Regions from separate parts of the Homo sapiens genome. Here all the other regions are linked to region 1. Evidence: promoter capture Hi-C in human tissues and cell types (Jung and others, 2019). All regions are on one chromosome and are shown on one strand. Each heading gives the region's core, a stretch centred on a gene start or on the middle of the fragment in contact. The rest is flanking DNA. Distances are from core to core; before and after follow the strand shown.

The links. Contacts are between HindIII fragments. The study calls those that stand out against the background at their distance.
Region 2: a fragment that was not itself captured here is called in contact with the fragment with the promoter of NR6A1 in region 1 in 1 of the 25 tissues and cell types used here (lymphoblastoid cells).
Region 3: a contact is called between a fragment that was not itself captured here and the fragment with the promoter of NR6A1 in region 1, in 1 of the 25 tissues and cell types used here (dorsolateral prefrontal cortex).

The regions. Positions count from the first base shown.
Region 1 is chr9:124,769,996-124,772,695 of GRCh38, reverse strand. NR6A1 (nuclear receptor subfamily 6 group A member 1) reads left to right here and starts at 1,385. Exons shown (of 10, transcript NM_033334.4): 1 at 1,385-1,676. The coding sequence starts at 1,577. LOC124900274 (a long non-coding RNA gene) reads left to right here and starts at 2,216. Exons shown (of 2, transcript XR_007061773.1): 1 at 2,216-2,700. It overlaps LOC107987126 (a long non-coding RNA gene), which reads right to left and starts at 1,339. Exons shown (of 2, transcript XR_001746926.3): 1 at 923-1,339. RefSeq lists enhancers at 986-1,245, 1,036-1,603 and silencers at 1,316-1,895, 2,436-2,685. The HindIII fragment of the contact is 6,332 bases long and covers 1-2,700 here.
Region 2 is chr9:124,591,284-124,594,055 of GRCh38, reverse strand. All of the region lies in intron 2 of NR6A1 (nuclear receptor subfamily 6 group A member 1), which reads left to right. Among named protein-coding and RNA genes, the nearest start is that of MIR181A2HG, 66 kb to the left of the region's middle. The HindIII fragment of the contact is 3,555 bases long and covers 1-2,772 here.
Region 3 is chr9:124,537,117-124,539,970 of GRCh38, reverse strand. It overlaps NR6A1 (nuclear receptor subfamily 6 group A member 1), which reads left to right. Exons shown (of 10, transcript NM_033334.4): 6 at 1,652-1,879. Among named protein-coding and RNA genes, the nearest start is that of NR5A1, 31 kb to the right of the region's middle. The HindIII fragment of the contact is 3,760 bases long and covers 1-2,854 here.

The DNA of each region.
Region 1 (2,700 bases), core at 136-2,635:
AGGGACAATATTGTTGCTATCTCATAGAGCAGGTATGAGGTTTAGACGGCAGAGCGTTAATGTAAGTCTCCCAGATTACGTATGAAATACAGTTTCACCAGGGTTGGTAAGGTCCAGTTGCCCCCAAGTGCAGAGAAGCGTTGCAACTTTCGTAGCAGGTGAGGGACGGGGTATGGTGCGAAATGTGGGCAAGGGTCAGGCCAAGCAGGGATGCGAATGCCAGGACGAGGACTTAAAATTAGGCAAAAAAAAAATAAAAGGGCTAAGGGATTGGTGGGGCGGGTGGGGCAGGAGAGGGCGAATGAGCGGCCACCGAGGAAGCTGCAGCATAATCCGGCAGAGCAGAAGTGGGCAAAGCACCAACGTTCTCGTTCTTTGTCTTCAAGTGGGCCAGGTAGGCCTTAGACCCTTGGCGGCAGCAGCGAAATCCTTTCCCGATGGGGTCGCCGAAGACGGACACCCCGGCGGGCCTAGTGACCGGTGGCCGCGCGCCACCTGGTGGCCGCAGCGGGTGGATTCGGCCGGGAGCCGCTGCAAAATTCGGGATTTTGCTTCCGGAAAGCTTCGGGAAACTGAGGTGGGAGGGGCAGGGGTTTGCGATCTTCCAACTTGATCCTGTCCTTATTCCAACCCCCTTTTACAGATAGGGAAACTGAGGAAAGGGGAAGGCAAACAAGGCTGGGCAAGGGATCCCTCTTAAACGGAAGGTTTCAAGACACCTGGGGTCAAGAGCCTAGGGCTTTCTTTAATAGCCCCAATGGCCCGGAGCTTAGTTTGCCCATCTGTTCTATGGGCAGGGGGAAAATGAAAGGGGAGGAGGGGAAACTTTAGTCTTTGCCGCCCACCCGGAGGTAAAAAGTCTTTAAAGACTACCCCGGAAAGAAGAGTTTTATATATTCCATTTGCATACGAACGCAGTCACCTCGAGTTAAACTCCGGTCCTTTAATCTCCGGTCCAATTTGTCCCGCAGCGGCAGGGAGAGGCCCACGTGAGTACCTTCAAGCCCCGCCTCCAGGGCCCCGCCCACAGGGCTGGGCTTCGTTGCACGTGCTCACCCGGCTGCCTCGCGATCCACCTCCTCGCAAAGACTCATTGTTGGGGTGGGGGGTTACGAGGACTCTTAGGGAACTTTGATCAGGTAGAAATCACAATCAAGACAAGGCCCGGAAGTATCCGCTTACTACATAGACATCAAACGCTTTGTCATGGTTCTTGATATTGACAGACTTTAGCTTTCCCTTCTCAGGACTTCTTATCCCTCCTTCCACCCCTTCAGTTGGTGCGGTCGGCGTGGCCGGCCTCGCTGAGCGGACTCCAACTTCCAGCGTGCCCCGCAGGGCCTTGCGCGGCAGCGGCGTGTGACGTCAGGGGAGGGAGCTGGCCAGTGCTGAGGGGGCGCGGCGCGGAGGGGCGCGGAGCGGCGCGGAGCCGGGCGGCTCGGGGCCCAGAGAGAGCCGCGGCCGGGAGCTCGCGGGCTCCTGACAACCTCCTCCCCTCGGCGGACGACGACCACGGCGACTAGGGCGCCGGTCATGGCGGAGCAACAAACCCGGCGCGGACCCTAGGCACCACCGCATGGAGCGGGACGAACCGCCGCCTAGCGGAGGGGGAGGCGGCGGGGGCTCGGCGGGGTTCCTGGAGCCTCCCGCCGCGCTCCCTCCGCCGCCGCGCAACGGTGGGTGAGGGGCCTGCGACGCCCGGGCCAGGCAGGAACCGGCTTCCTGAGCCTCCGCCAGGGATCCCCCTCCTCTCTGCCGACCCTCGCCCTGGGAAGCCGCAGCGGCCCCGCGGCCCCTTAGGGTGGCCCTTCACCCCGTTCCCCGTTGGCGCGGACCCTCCCTCTCCTCCCCGGTCTCGCTCAGGGTGGATCCTCCTCCTTCGTCCCTGTTCCCTTCTGCGCGGACCCTCCCCCTGCCCGGGTCCCTGGGCACCGAGCTTCATTTCCCCCTCCCCCCGTCCCCTCTGCACAGGCTTCCCCTCCCCCCGTCCCCTCAGCACCAATCCTCCCTCCTCCCCCCGGGTCCCCTCCCCCTGTCTTCCCAGCACCGAACCTTCCCCTCCCCCCGGGCTCCTCAGGTTGGAAGTCCCCACCGCGGTCCGTCAGTGGGGGCATCCCCTCACTCGGGTTCCCTTAACGCAGAGCCTCTCTTTTCCCCTACAGGGGTTCCTCCTCCCACCGAGGACGCTCCCTTCTTGCCCTGTTGACCCGACTCCACAGCACCCTTGTACCGCTCAGCTTTCTAGAGCGTTTTCCTCTTCTGCAGCCTCGAGCGTTCTTCCTTGAATACTACGAGCCCCCCACCTCTGCCGAACCCCCGTTCGCTAGACATCCCCCAGTCGTTTCCTTTTTCGGACCCCTTCGCGCCTCCTGCTTCCCCTGCGCCTCACCTTCCTCAACGCCCCGCGCGCTCTGGCCGGTCTCCGCCCCTGCTCAGCTCCCCTCTCCGCCAGGCAACGGCTTTCCCTGGCCGAGGGCTCCAGCCCGCCCCGGGGCCCCGGACACCTGCCTCCTCCCGGCTTCTGCCCGGCAGGTCCCGGTCCCCACCTCTTAGTCTCAGTTCTCCTCTTTCTTGTCCCGATCCGGGACCTTGGGAGCTGAGAATCCCTCACCTGGCCCGGCCCTTCCTACCGCTCGTCCCTCGCCCCCTCGCCCGGGCCGGGTCCTCAGGTTCCTCGGGGCTTCCTCGCCCTCCTCCCCT
Region 2 (2,772 bases), core at 161-2,660, 180 kb after region 1:
TGTCCATTTAAATTAACCTTTGTCACAGCTGGGCATACAAATGTTTTGTTTTAGTTCACAGAGGGTTAACTCTATTCAAGCTTTCACTGTGGCAGGCCTGATCTGTGGAGTCATACAATCTGGTCTTTCAGCCCTGCCAGTCGCTAGGCAGGAAGTCTTATTTCTTAAGCTATCTTTCAGAATGGGGGTTGGGATTTGGAGAAAGGTGGGGGAAGGGCTTTGGAGCATCTGTAAGGATCAATAACAGAGAGAGAGAGAGAGCCGTAAGAGAGGCCATTGTGCACACTTCAAGATAGATGCAGCCCTTGTGCACAGCCCCTGCCTGGCAGGACAGACACCTAAAACCAAAACAATGACACCGAATGAATTCTCTGTGAAAATTAGATTGCCGCTTAAAGGAGAAAAATACTTGAGTGCCCTTTCAACGTTGGGGAATATTCTCATTCCTCAACTTGCAAAGATTAGGCAACCCCCACTAAAAATAACTCCAAATTGATTTTTAAATGCCTTTTGTCCTCATGCTAATACTGTATTGAATTGGAGAGGGTGATCATTTGGGTCTTGGTCACATGCATCAAAGCATTGAGTAAGTAATCTTTTTTCTTCTCTCTCTCCCCCTCTCTGCTCTCTTCCTCCCTCCCTTTTTCTCTTCTTTTTTATTCTAATGTTTGCTTTACCCTGTTGGTTTTGGAGGCATCATTAAGGGAATGAAAAAACTAAGATTTGGTTAGGATTTGAGTAACACATGTGCGAAATCCCTCCCCGAACAGCTGGTATTGGCTCTCGAAACTTCAACTGAGCTAAACAGATGTTCCTAGTGTGTTATTTTGAGATAATTTAAACCAGACTTATAGTCAAGAACTCTACAAAAATTGTAGATTTGATTTTTAAATGCACTAAAGTTGTGATATCGTGCCACATCTTAATACATGTTATATGGGTGTTAAGCAAAAACACCTGAGCTTGGGAAAGTGAGCAGTTCCGCCAATGAAATTGTGATATTTAAAACACTACCAAGTTTGTTATTCTTTTACTCCAGCCCAGATTTTCATTTTTCAGATTCCCCTTTCCCAAACCCTGTAACATTCCTGTTTTACTGTATCCTTTTCCAGAGGACTAAGGCATTAATTCATTAGGTACTTTCTTGATGCAAATTCTTTATGGCATTTGGAAAGAGTAATGGAGTCATTGCCACCTTTCTTCTACTAAACTTCCAAAGTACTGGTGACAACTGACTGGTAACAGCTGAGAAAAATGGAATCCTAAACAGCCTTAAATAGTCTTCTCCCAACTTGAAATCTTCCAGGAATAAATGCATAAATGAACTGGGGGTCCATAATGTGGCTTGCAGACAGACAAATGGAATAAGGGGAGGCGGGGAGACCTGCGCTTGAAATTAGCAAGTTTAGTTTATTCTAGGCTTCTTGAGTTGAAAACTGACATAATCTGGACAATTTTGAGGCTAGGAAAAATATCTGGATGCCTCACATCATCTGGATATTTTTAACCCATCTCTAATCGGTACCCTTTTGCTGGGGAAAATGATGTACAGGAAGAAAATCTGATTTAATCACCGCAAACAGTACCTCCTTGACACAATTGATTCTGCCCCTCTGATATATTGTAATTCTCCATTAATATTTAAACCAAAGAATCGATTATTTTAATGGACATTTTCCATGGACATACAAATATTACTAACAAAACTTGGAAATTCAGTTACCATTTCCGTTGTGTTAAAATGGGGTATGAAACCTACCATGACCCTTTTGAACAATGTGGTCTTTAATGTGTATTAGGGGGAGGGCCTAGTGAAGGAAAAGCCATAAAAGTCCTCAGGGTTCAAGATGAGGTTGGGATTTTGGCCCATTGCTTTTGTCATTTTCACACACAAACATCGCTGCAATCATGTTTGATTTAGCATCCTTAATACAATGAGGTGGGAGAACAAAAGGATATCAGAGGCACAAATATGGCAACCAAACAATCTCCCACCCCGCGACCACCAATTTTTTCACATCATTCGTTTTTTTCTGTTCCCCTGCTACTGGGGTTTCTTTTTAAGCCGAGGAAATTAATCTATTTGCAAGAATCTTCTTTTTGCATGCCTCAGTAGTTTGCTTGGGCAATTGAAAAGCTACATCTCAAATGGTTTTTAGCTGTGTGAAAAGTCATTTCCTAAAAACTTGGGGAAAACGCTATAATTAGGAAAAATGCATCTACCCATATTTCAAGGTTAAGAGTTGGTCAGGGTGTGTGGTGGGGGGTGGGGGAGGTGTTCACACTGCACAGCTGTTTTACATATTTTGAAAAGCCTGATAGATGTAAAGGTCATTGCTAACTCTAACAGGGTCTTGATGCTCACACTGTGATCCAAGGACCTTGCATTAATTAGGATGAGAAGCATGGAAGGTCAGGAGTCAACCGGCTGGTGAGCCTCGATGGATTGTTAGTGGGACCAATCAGAATTCCTGTAGGATTTTTAAACCATTAAAACAAAAAAACAAAAACTACTGCTGCTTCTGTTGCCTCTGGATGGATCCCTTGGTCTGTGTGGCAAGGACTCGTCCCCTGTTGCCCAGATGGCTCATAAAAACTTGGCTACGTATATGGCTTTGCTACAGGCTTCCTGGTGTTGGAGAAAGAACCTCATCAGCTTGACTCTGTCACTTGGCCAAGTCACTTGACCTCTATGAACCTCAATTTCCTTATATATGCAACAGAGGATAGTAATACCTATCTCACAGGACCGCTATGGGAATTAAATAAGAA
Region 3 (2,854 bases), core at 275-2,774, 230 kb after region 1:
GAAAACCTCTGGCTGAGTATCCCTGCCAGGCTGTCTCAGCCATTGTACTGTTGCTCCCTCAGACTCTTGGAGTAGGGGTCAGGAAGATTAAAAACAGTGTTTCCCAGCCCCTTTTATGCTAAAGACCTTGAAAATGTCAGTGGTCTCTTCTGCAGACTGATAAAGTGCTATAGCTTCTATCCATGCCCGTGCATTCTTCACCTAACAGAATAACATTTTAAATGTTGCCATTTTCCCTCATTTATTTTATCACTGAAATAAACCTTTTTGACAGTTTTGAATTAAACTGTAATTTCTCTGCCTCACAAGAGTCAATGTTTTTCACTTTATAAATTTTAAGAAACATTGAAGGCTTTTTAAGCCAGTCAAATTTGCTGCTATCAGAGAATACAAACTTAGAAACTCTTGGTTCAAGCATATCTTTAGTTAGTTGTCGAGTGTGAAATAGATCCTTCAGCTATTAGGGAAGCTTTCCTTTCCCCAGAAACCTTTCTTATAGGATATGGATTGACAAACTTTTTCTGCAAAGGCCAGATAGTAAATATTTTCAGCTTTCCGGGCCTAATGGTTTGGATCTCAGCTTCTCCATTCTGCCTTTGTAGTGTGAAAACAGCTATGGCCATGGACATTATGTGAACCAGTGAGCATGGCTGTGTTCCAAAATAGGCAGTGGGCTGGATTTAGCTTGCAAGCCAAAGTTTGCCAACCCCAGTTATAGGAGATACATTTAGGCAAAAGCTGGAAGATTTTTTTTTTTCTTAAGAGATGCCAGGCATGGTGGCTCACATCTGTATTCCCAGCACTTTGGGAGGTCAAGGTGGGTAGATTGCTTAAGTCCAGGAGTTCAAGACCAGCCTAGGCAACATGGCAAGACTCTGTCTTTTTTTGTTGTTGTCGTTGTTAATTAAATACTTTTTTTTTTAAAAAAAGAGATGGAGTCTTGCTATGTTGCCCAGGCTTGTCTCAAATTCCTAGCCTTAAGTGATCCTTCCACCTCAGCCTCCCAAGTAGCTGAAACTGTAGGTGCACACCACTGTGGCTGGCTTAGGTTTTTTTTTTTTTTTTAATTAGTTGACAGAGTGGTTAGCTTTCTCCAAGAAAGGAAAGGAAGGCAAAAATCTACCTTTGTCTTCATATTTAATTAAAGCTTTTATCCCATTCAGGTGCCCCTTCGTTTGTTCTTTCCTTGGACTATTTAGGGGGTTGTTGCCACATGCCGGGTTCCTTGCTAGATGCTGGATTTGTTTTGTGGCCTAGCCAGGACTTAGCCTGTCTGTGCCTTAGTTTTCCTAGCAGTATTATAATATAAATACCTACTTTGTCATCATAGTCTACAAGTATCTGTTAAAAAACTGTCCAGACATGGCACCTATACAAAGAATTCATTCAACCAATATTTATTCATTACCTACTCTGCCATGCACTGAGTGTCCAGTGGCGACCCCAACATTCATATACCCATAGAGTCTTTGTCTTACAGATGGGAATCTAGTAGGAGAGACATGAATTTAACTATTAATTATGCCCCCTGGCTTGATGAAGACACATACCTCATGTTCAAAGAATACCTAAAGTCACCTTCTGGCTCACTTCCTTTGAGTAATTACTAGACTTGCCATGGCTCTGTTTGACGCAAGACTTTTCTCTCCAGTAGGTCTGTGGAACTGAATGGATTCATGGCCTTCAGGGAACAGTACATGGGAATGTCTGTGCCTCCACATTACCAATATATACCGCACCTTTTTAGCTATTCTGGCCACTCACCACTTCTGCCCCAACAAGCTCGCAGCCTGGATCCCCAGTCATACAGTCTGATTCACCAGCTGTTATCAGCCGAGGACCTGGAACCATTGGGCACGCCCATGTTGATTGAAGATGGGTGAGTGAGCTCCGCCCTTCTTGGCCCCTTGCAGTCTCAAAGTGTCCCTACCCCACACCCACTCGCGTCCCTGGCTCCTATACCCGTGGCTTCAGAATGAGTTGGGGGGATAATGACTCAAGTGTCAGGGGACAAATCTGTGCTTATCTTTGAAACCAGTGATCCCTTATTTTTTCCTTAAGCATCCTTTCTCATAGAGTTGAGGTTACTTTCCAGTTCCTATGGAATTGAGATAGAAGGGCCTTTGATTCTGCTTGGGCCTAGGTAAGCCAGGTGCTGGGATGGGTCAGAGCACTTCCATGCTAGAGATGAGCAGTAATTCTGGGAATAGTTATATATCGGATATAGGCTCCTTCACAAAGCCCTGGCTGGTTGTAGCCTGTCTGCACCCCTCACCAGCATCCCCATGGCTAGCCTGGTGGCATGTGACCACTTTAAGTGCAGGCTTGAGTGGGTAGAAGGAGTATTCTTTCAGTCTTTAGTCACTTCTACCTGAGGAGATAACAGTTCAGCCTTCGGGCCTACCCATTGCTGCATCCATTACTCCTTTGGCCTAGAGCATAAACGATTTGAGTGTTATCAAGCTTAGACCTCCCAGGAAGGTATCCTGAGATTTCTTAAGCTAGTCTCCAGTTTCAGAAGAGGAGATTAAAATATCTACCCACAAGGAGGTCACACAAACCCTTTGTAAATCTAGATGTAGGAAGCCGGGCGTGGTGGCTCATGCCTGTAATCCCAGCACTTTGGAAGGCCTAGGTGGGCGGATCACCAGGTCACGAGTTCCAGACGAGCTGGCCAACATGGTGAAACCCCGTGTGTACTAAAAATACAAAAATTAGCTGGGTGTGGTGGCACACGCCTGTAATCGCAGCTACTCAGTAAGCTGAGGCAGGAGAATTGCTTGAACCCAGGAGGTGGAGGTTGCAGCGAGCTGAGGTTGCGGTGAGCCGAGATTGCGCCACTGCACTCCAGCTC